2 separate regions of the Homo sapiens genome follow, and region 1 is linked to region 2. The links are contacts of gene promoters, found by promoter capture Hi-C in blood cells and fetal thymus (Javierre and others, 2016). All regions are on one chromosome and are shown on one strand. Each heading gives the region's core, a stretch centred on a gene start or on the middle of the fragment in contact. The rest is flanking DNA. Distances are from core to core; before and after follow the strand shown.

Region 1 (3,798 bases), core at 280-2,779, 370 kb before region 2:
TCAGGCATGGAATATGGAATGATTGTTATGTCCTAAGGAAAGATTCTTGCTAGAAGAATGGCTAGAAGATTTCTTCAGATGACCCCCACTCCAGCCCCCACCACCACCAAAGCTCTTTCCAAATTTACGTTTCCATGATCCTAAGAACCTAGATGTCACTCCTAAAGCACCAAACTAAATAAGATGTGCTTACTTTGTACATAATGTTATTTCCCAAGCTTTAAGACAGCACTATAAACAAATTTACTTGAAGTCATCATAGAAAAGGAATAACTTGGAGCATGGCATTTATCGTTTTTGTACCAGGGCATTGTGTCCAGCAAAATATAGAAATGTAATCTATGTATTATATATTGATTCCTAGAACATGTGTATCTGTATCTGTCACAGGAATTCATCATGTGATCAAGTGTGAATTGAGAAAAAATTTAACTTTGAGATGCAAAATTGAATTGTGTTGCATTGGAGTTGACTAATATGAATGTATGTTATTCAACCCAAAGAGACATGAAGAGGCCCAAAAGTGACTCTCTCCATTGCCCCACTGCATGTGTTTGTACACTGAATGCTTACAGATAGATGGTAAATGTGTGTATTCACTTTTACTTTCAGTTACTATCAAGAATCAATACCTTCATAAGAAAATTTCTTGAGGAAGTACTTTAGAAATGCTATTGTGTGTGATAATGCACGTTTTAGTACCAACCAGATCCAAATCCAAGTCCTGAATCTACCATTTATTAGTTAAATCATTTACAGTAAGTTACCATAGACTTCTCACAGGATAGTGGTAAAGATCAAACCAGAAAATGTTGAAAAAGTGAATGGTGGCTGGCATATAGTAGATGCTCAATAAATATTAATTCATTTTCCAGTCACTTATGAATTCCCAAATTTCTTTTGTTTAAGGATTGTGGACTCTTCCAAGATTCACAATGATATGGTGAATCCAAAGACTGGAACCAAAAAGATTTACTCAGTGCTTTAGTTTTAACAACAGTAAATTGTCTACCAACACCCATCATGGCTAAAAGTGCGGAGGTCAAACTGGCAATATTTGGGAGAGCAGGCGTGGGCAAGTCAGGTAAGATTTTCGTTGTGGTTGTTATAGTGTGTGTGTGTGGGTGAGTGTGTTTCTTTATTACTGTTTCTTGGGATTGGGCAGGTGAGTAGTTGGTATTCCTCCTATTTTCATTTCTTACTCTTTTAGATAAAGTCTCTTCATCTAGAACTTTTATTTTGCGTAATCGACTGTTACGTATCCTTTTGCTTATTTATGCTGAAGTAGCTTTGCTGATAACACACAAGATAAAGGATATATCAGAGGTCTTGGCATTCTGATTTTTAACAACCTCCAAAGAAATCAGATGATGGAAATTAAAAAATATATATTTGTTCTTTTCTCTATGTATGAGATCTTGAGGGACTGATTTTACATCTCATTCATTTTGATATTCTCAGCAAACAGTCCAGTGTCAAGCATGTGTTAGGTGCTTTAAAAATGCTTAAGTGAATCTAGCTTTATCAGAAACAGAATTGCATTATTGCCAAACACTCAAAAATCCTGAGAGGATTCCTGAAACTTTAGGAGTGCATGCTCTCAAGCAAGATAGCTATTGCGAATGCCTCTGCAGTGAATTTAAATTAGCAAGTTCTGGCTAACATCAGTAATTCAGAGACTTTGTTCACTATCTGAGAAATCGCTAGCAGACCTTTAAGATTAAGGGTGAAATGGTGGAAGTGAAAAATGTACCTGCTATCTAATTTGAAAAATACATCTTCGATCTTATAATTAAAGAATTCCAAAGTCAACGTTGCTGAAACATTAGGGCAGCATGACCTTTCAGGGTAACCTCTTGCCTTAGTCTCTTACTGGAGGAAGGAACCATAATTAACTGTACACAGAGCTTTTGGTTCTCAGGAAAGGACTCAAACAGATATCTGGTAGGTGCATGTTTGTAGAGGGAAACCTGTTTGGAAATAAACTGTATAATCCAATACATTAGGTAATCCACAAAATCTTAGACAAATACACATAATTGCTTTTTAATTCTGTGACCAACCTTTCTTTTCTAACCTGCTGTCTGGTTTAATTTCAGCAGTAATCTTCCCTCTTCTAAGTCTTTGTCTCTCGTTTTTCTTTTAATTTTCTCAAGAGTACTCTTTCCTGCTACCACCATTTTCTTCTGTTTGGTTTGCTCTTGCCTCTGGCAGAAACCACACAAGGAAAATAGATAGTTGGCAAGGCTAAGAAACTGCCAGCCTTCACAAGATTGAAGATAGTTAAACTCCTCCCTGTTAATCTCCTCAGTGTTTCCTAATGGCGTGAGAACCTAATTTCTGTAGCTGGTAGAAGGATCTGGAGAATGAGGAAATGATTCCTGTGAGTGGAGGATGGAGGGAAGGCAGTGTGGGAGAAGATGTGCACTGCCAGCAAGAGCTTGTCTAACTCCTTGTGAGTGCAGGGTCTAGGCTTGAGGCTGACCATTTATTCCTTCATTCCAGACTTCCAAAGGCAATAAGGGAAGGAGATTTTTTAAAACCTTGTATCATTTGTTAAAATAACCTACATGCGATTTAAGAAGTCAAACATAAAAATGAAAACTCAGCTGAGAGAACCACGTAGCTGTACGTGCGTCCATCCGTTTCCCATCTTCATGATCTCGGAGCAAGCTGGGTGTCTCCTCCTGTCAAGGCTCATGCATCAGCCTGAGCTGGGATGCCTGTTTTCGTTGCCTTTCCCCACATTGTTTCAATTATTCCTCTCATTCTCACCTGACCATTTTTCCTCACGCATGTCTTCGTCCACTGCTTCATCTTTTTCTTTTCTTCAAGCTTATTGAATATGGGTTCTTCCCTTACTGTCTTATCTTTTTTTAACTCTCCCATTCATTGCTTAAAACATAGCCATCTTCTGTTACAACCATGCTACTGAAACTGCTTTTGCTAAGGTCACTACCAAACAATGACCAACACATCTAATGATCATTTTCCAGTTCTGATCTTCTTAGACTTCTTTCTATCATCACACAGCTGCTTATTCTTTCCTGAAATTCCTTCCTTCCCAGGCTCCCATGACATCACACTCTTTGGCTTTGCTGCTCTCTCTCCGTAGCTCCTAACTAGCTGTTTTCATGGGTTTGCTCTTCGTCTGCGCACTTCTCAAAGTTGAAGCTTCCAGGGTTCTATATATCATCCTCTTGCGTCCTTACTCCATACACTGCCCCTAGAAGTGCTACTCACACCCAAAGCTGAAGATAACACCTGCACAGAGAGATCAAATTCTGCTGACCTGAATTTTATTTTATGTAAAATGCACAGGTTGAAATTGCTCACTAAGTTTCTTTCCAACTCTAACATTCAAATCTTCTTTGGACTGTTTTCTCTATTTGCCTTGAATACATTCCACCATTTGTGTTTGTTTTCATTTAGGTGAAAATGACAATGACAGACTACATATCTTTAACAATTGCCTTTTTGTCTGTCATCTATAAACAGACAGTGTTTTCCTATGTCAACATTAAATTATTTTTCTGAGACCTGTAACTGCACCTCACATTTTAAAAGTAGCACTCGTTTGATGCATGGGTGAAAATTGTGAAACCTTTTTCCATAGTTCAGTGAAAACGACCACAAACTACTTCATATCTACCAATTTTATTTTAAGACACTGGGTCTCCCTCTGTCGCTCAGGCTGGAGTGCAGTGGCATGATCATAGCTCACTGCAGCCACCAACTCCTGGGCTCAAGAGATCCTCCCACCTTGATCTCCCCAGTAACTAGGACTACGAGTGTGTC
Region 2 (3,805 bases), core at 747-3,246:
GTTCTCCCTCTTTTAGACTGAGTGGTATAAAATGTTACAAAGTTTTCTGCTGCCCTCCAGTGGTCTTATCCTGGAAGTGGCAGTCACGATAGGAAAAATAGCAAAACCTTTATAGAAGATAATAATAAAATGACACACTCTTTTAGAGTGTTTTAAGATCGTGGGCTTCAGGAGACAGAAAAGCACCTGTGATTACTAAAAAGTTATTAAACTTCACAGGGCCTCAACAACCACATTTATAAAGGAAAGGTTAAAATATCTCTTCATGGTCGTCCCATGGGTTGAGATAACATGCAAAAAGGTCTTGAAGTACAGTACTTGCTCAATAAAAGAAAAGTTTCACCTTATTTAAGCCTGACAACTTTCTATAAGGTTAAGGAAACTGAGGCTAAGCACAAATTACTTATTTTTTAAAGTTACCTCAGCCAGCATTGTGGGTAGAACTCAAACTATAATTCAAATTTTCATATTCTAAGTCTAGTTCTCTTCATGACATCTCAATATTCCAAAGTAACAGTTGCTAATAAGGAACCTTAAGAATTGTTAAAGTCTTAAAGGGATATTTTCACACACTGCTAGTGGTTGCCATTAAATCTGAAAAATATGCATTCCATGGATCAGTAGTCACATCTCTAGAACTGCATCTTAAAAATTGTGAGAAACACACAAAAATTTATGTAGTTGAAAACAAGCTAAATATAAGATATTTATTAAATAAACTTTGGTGCAAATAATAATAATTGGTTTTATTTGTTGGAAAATTTCTAGGTGCCAGATGCTATTCTAAGGAGTATGAATGTATCAACACTAAAATGAAGTTGGTACTATTATTATCTCCATTCAACACATGAGGAAACAGAGAGACAGAGAGGTTAAGTAGCTTGTCCAAGATCACACATTTAGGAAGAAGGAGCACCAGGAATTGAACTGAGATGTCTTATTCAAGAGTCCATGTTCTAGTCACTTATCAATCTTCTTCTGAGACTGTCCATGGATCCACCCATGCTGTCCCATTGTGTGGCAGCACCTATGTAATGGAATATAGTGAACCTTTGTTTAAAAAATGTTTCAATAGGTATTAAATTATATAGGGACATGCTTACATTAAAATATTAAGGGGAATAAACAGTATGCAAAACTGCATACTATATTATTTCAGTTCTAGAAACCTGTGTGTGTGTATGTCTAAGGGTGTATAAATCAAAATCCAGACCTAATTAGTGGCTGTCTCCAAGTGACGGGTTATGTGTCATTTTTTTCTCCTTTGTGCTTTCTAAATATTCTGAATATTTGTTAATGAGACAGAACTGCTGTGATCATCAGAAAATTTAGATTAAAAAAATTCAGGGTGCCAAAAAATTCTAGAATACTTAAGAACAGCACTTAGTTTACCTTAAAAGTTAAAAATTGAATCCAGAAGTAAATATTTGCAAGAAAAACAATTATCAAGGATTGCTAACTTTTAGTTTCTTAAATAATGAATCCAGAAGTATAAATACAAAATATTTGCAAGAAAATATAATTATATCAAGGGTTGGGAGGAGAAGAAGGATGTTTAGACTAGAAAGGGTAGTACCTACCTAAAAGAGAGTGCTTAATAGAACTGTGCTGGATTAAGTTTGCACAGTGGACCCTATTTTAACTTATGTCAGCTCTACATAAGCAGTCTCCTGACAGTCGTCATTAGGATTCACTGGAGACTGGAACTGTGCGGACAGAGGGCCTGTCTTCAGAAGAGAAAATGGGGGAAGAGCTTTGAACCCAGAGGTACAATCTCTGGATTGGAGAGTTTCAAAGGTGCCAGGGAAAAGCAGTACAAAGAGCCTTCTTTTTGACAATAACTCTAAAACACACTTTGCTCTGTGAACGCCCGTCCTGGGCAGGGCCTATCAGCAGGGCCAGATGAGCCTATAGACACCCAGGGTGGCGCGTTCCCAGCCGCCCTGCGCATGCCAATCTTATCAGTTTTGATGGAAGCCTGGGGCTCCAGATAATGCTACTTGGCCCCAAACGCTGGACAGAGCATGCTTTTTCCTGTTTGGCTGGGAAAGGGAAGGCTGAACTGCTGAGTCTGACACTTAACAGGACTTCGGCATTCCCCTGAATACAGACTAGATCAGAGATTTTATTTTTTTAATTGAAAAGTAACTTGGGTTCTCTTTAGAAACCCTTATTTGGTGTGCGCATCTGGCTATTTCACAGAGATTTCAGTTTTGCAAAGAAGTCGGAGTTGATTTCTTCCCTCAGACAAGCTATTGGTTGTTGGTGGGCAACAGAAGTTGCTCAGCATAGACAGGGGAAAAAACGGTTACGGATGAGACTGAAAGAAAACCTCAAAGGAGAACTCTGAGAATTCATCTCAGGATGAAGCTGCAAGGGCAAAGGAGAAGTACTTGTGACACAAGCAAATGGGTCCATTGATCAACAGATGCAAGAAGATTCTTCTCCCAACTACTGTACCTCCTGCAACGATGAGAATCTGGCTCCTTGGAGGCCTGCTGCCATTCCTGCTGCTCCTCTCTGGCCTGCAGAGACCCACAGAGGGTTCTGAGGTAGGGGGACAATTGAGGGGGTGATCTCTTTATGATCAGTGCTCCAACAGAGCATTCACCCGGCCACAGCCTTTAAATGGCCGAAAACTTAGGCATTCAGAATCTAGTTTCATTCAGACATTTTAACAAATCATGTTAGTAAAGAGTGTTGAAAACAGTTATGAAAAATTGTAGAATCCTTCACTGTTAGTACACTTGACATTATGGATGCTAGTGGCATAAAGTTATTTTCCTGATCCACTGTAAAAATTAAGTAAAATATTGCTTCCATAGTACAAACAATGCAAAATAAACCAAGTCTATTTGGCTTTAAACTCTAGCATACAGATTGACTTAAGTTTTAAGTGAATATTTTAATAAAGATCTGTGTAACAAAAAACAACCTAATGTTAAGAGATGACAGAGTACATATTTGAGATCTAGTAACATATTAACAAAGTTTCAGAGTTCATCATGACAGTTGACAGAACATTGTATTATTGGTTTGGTTTGGCTCGGCTTGGCTTAAATAGATACCGTAGACCTATTTTAATACCTGATGTGAAGAGTTATTGGTTAAAATCATTTAATCAGTCTTAAAAATGTGTTCTAGTTCACAAACAACTAGCTGACGTCTCATCATAAATAACATAGTAAAAATACCAAATGGGATGTTCTTTAAGTTCCAGTTCCAACATCCTTAACATTGACTGGATGGAATGTGATCCTTTAACATGTCCCTCAATGAGTACTGTTTATTACGAAAACATCATTTCTTTGCCAAGAAAGGAATGTTTTAGAATTTATATAATTTATATATGGCTCTAAATGATAGTCTGATGATATTTTGTGGACTTCTATTCAAATCTGTCATTTCAGTTTAGCATGCACTAGACGTGAATAAACAACATTCTGTTGGCTACCCATTAGAAAGGAATGTCCTTTTCCAGGAGGGGAGGGACTTTCCTAGGCACATTCCTGACCACTGTCCAACCCTTGACTCACTCTGCTGTCCCTGAGGGGGACAAATGTACTTGACTGGTAACATGGGAAAAAACAACTGGGTGTGCTGAGTTTGGCTCTGCTCTTCATCCTCCTGGGAGTTAGCCTGATGGCAAAGGGCATCAGTTCTCTGTTTCCCCATGACAAGAATCTTACCTGGGCAGGCCCCAGTTCAGTACTGCCTGCAAACGAGTCGGTCCCATTCTGGAATTTGCTCTTAACAAGCCACTTGCTATCAGACCTAACAATGTGACTGCTGTAGCGTGCCCTTT

What was found. The method cuts DNA at HindIII sites, captures the fragments that hold promoters and counts their contacts. A CHiCAGO score of 5 or more calls a contact.
Region 1: a fragment that was not itself captured here is called in contact with the fragment with the promoter of ART4 in region 2 in 3 of 17 cell types (total CD4 T cells, non-activated CD4 T cells and naive CD4 T cells); the score reaches 6.0 in total CD4 T cells.

The regions. Positions count from the first base shown.
Region 1 is chr12:15,214,715-15,218,512 of GRCh38, reverse strand. It overlaps RERG (RAS like estrogen regulated growth inhibitor), which reads left to right. Exons shown (of 5, transcript NM_032918.3): 2 at 910-1,084. The coding sequence starts at 1,024. Among named protein-coding and RNA genes, the nearest start is that of RERG, 4.8 kb to the left of the region's middle. The HindIII fragment of the contact is 2,617 bases long and covers 221-2,837 here.
Region 2 is chr12:14,841,717-14,845,521 of GRCh38, reverse strand. It overlaps ART4 (ADP-ribosyltransferase 4 (inactive) (Dombrock blood group)), which reads left to right and starts at 1,996. Exons shown (of 3, transcript NM_021071.4): 1 at 1,996-2,552. The coding sequence starts at 2,409. The HindIII fragment of the contact is 16,901 bases long and covers 1-3,805 here.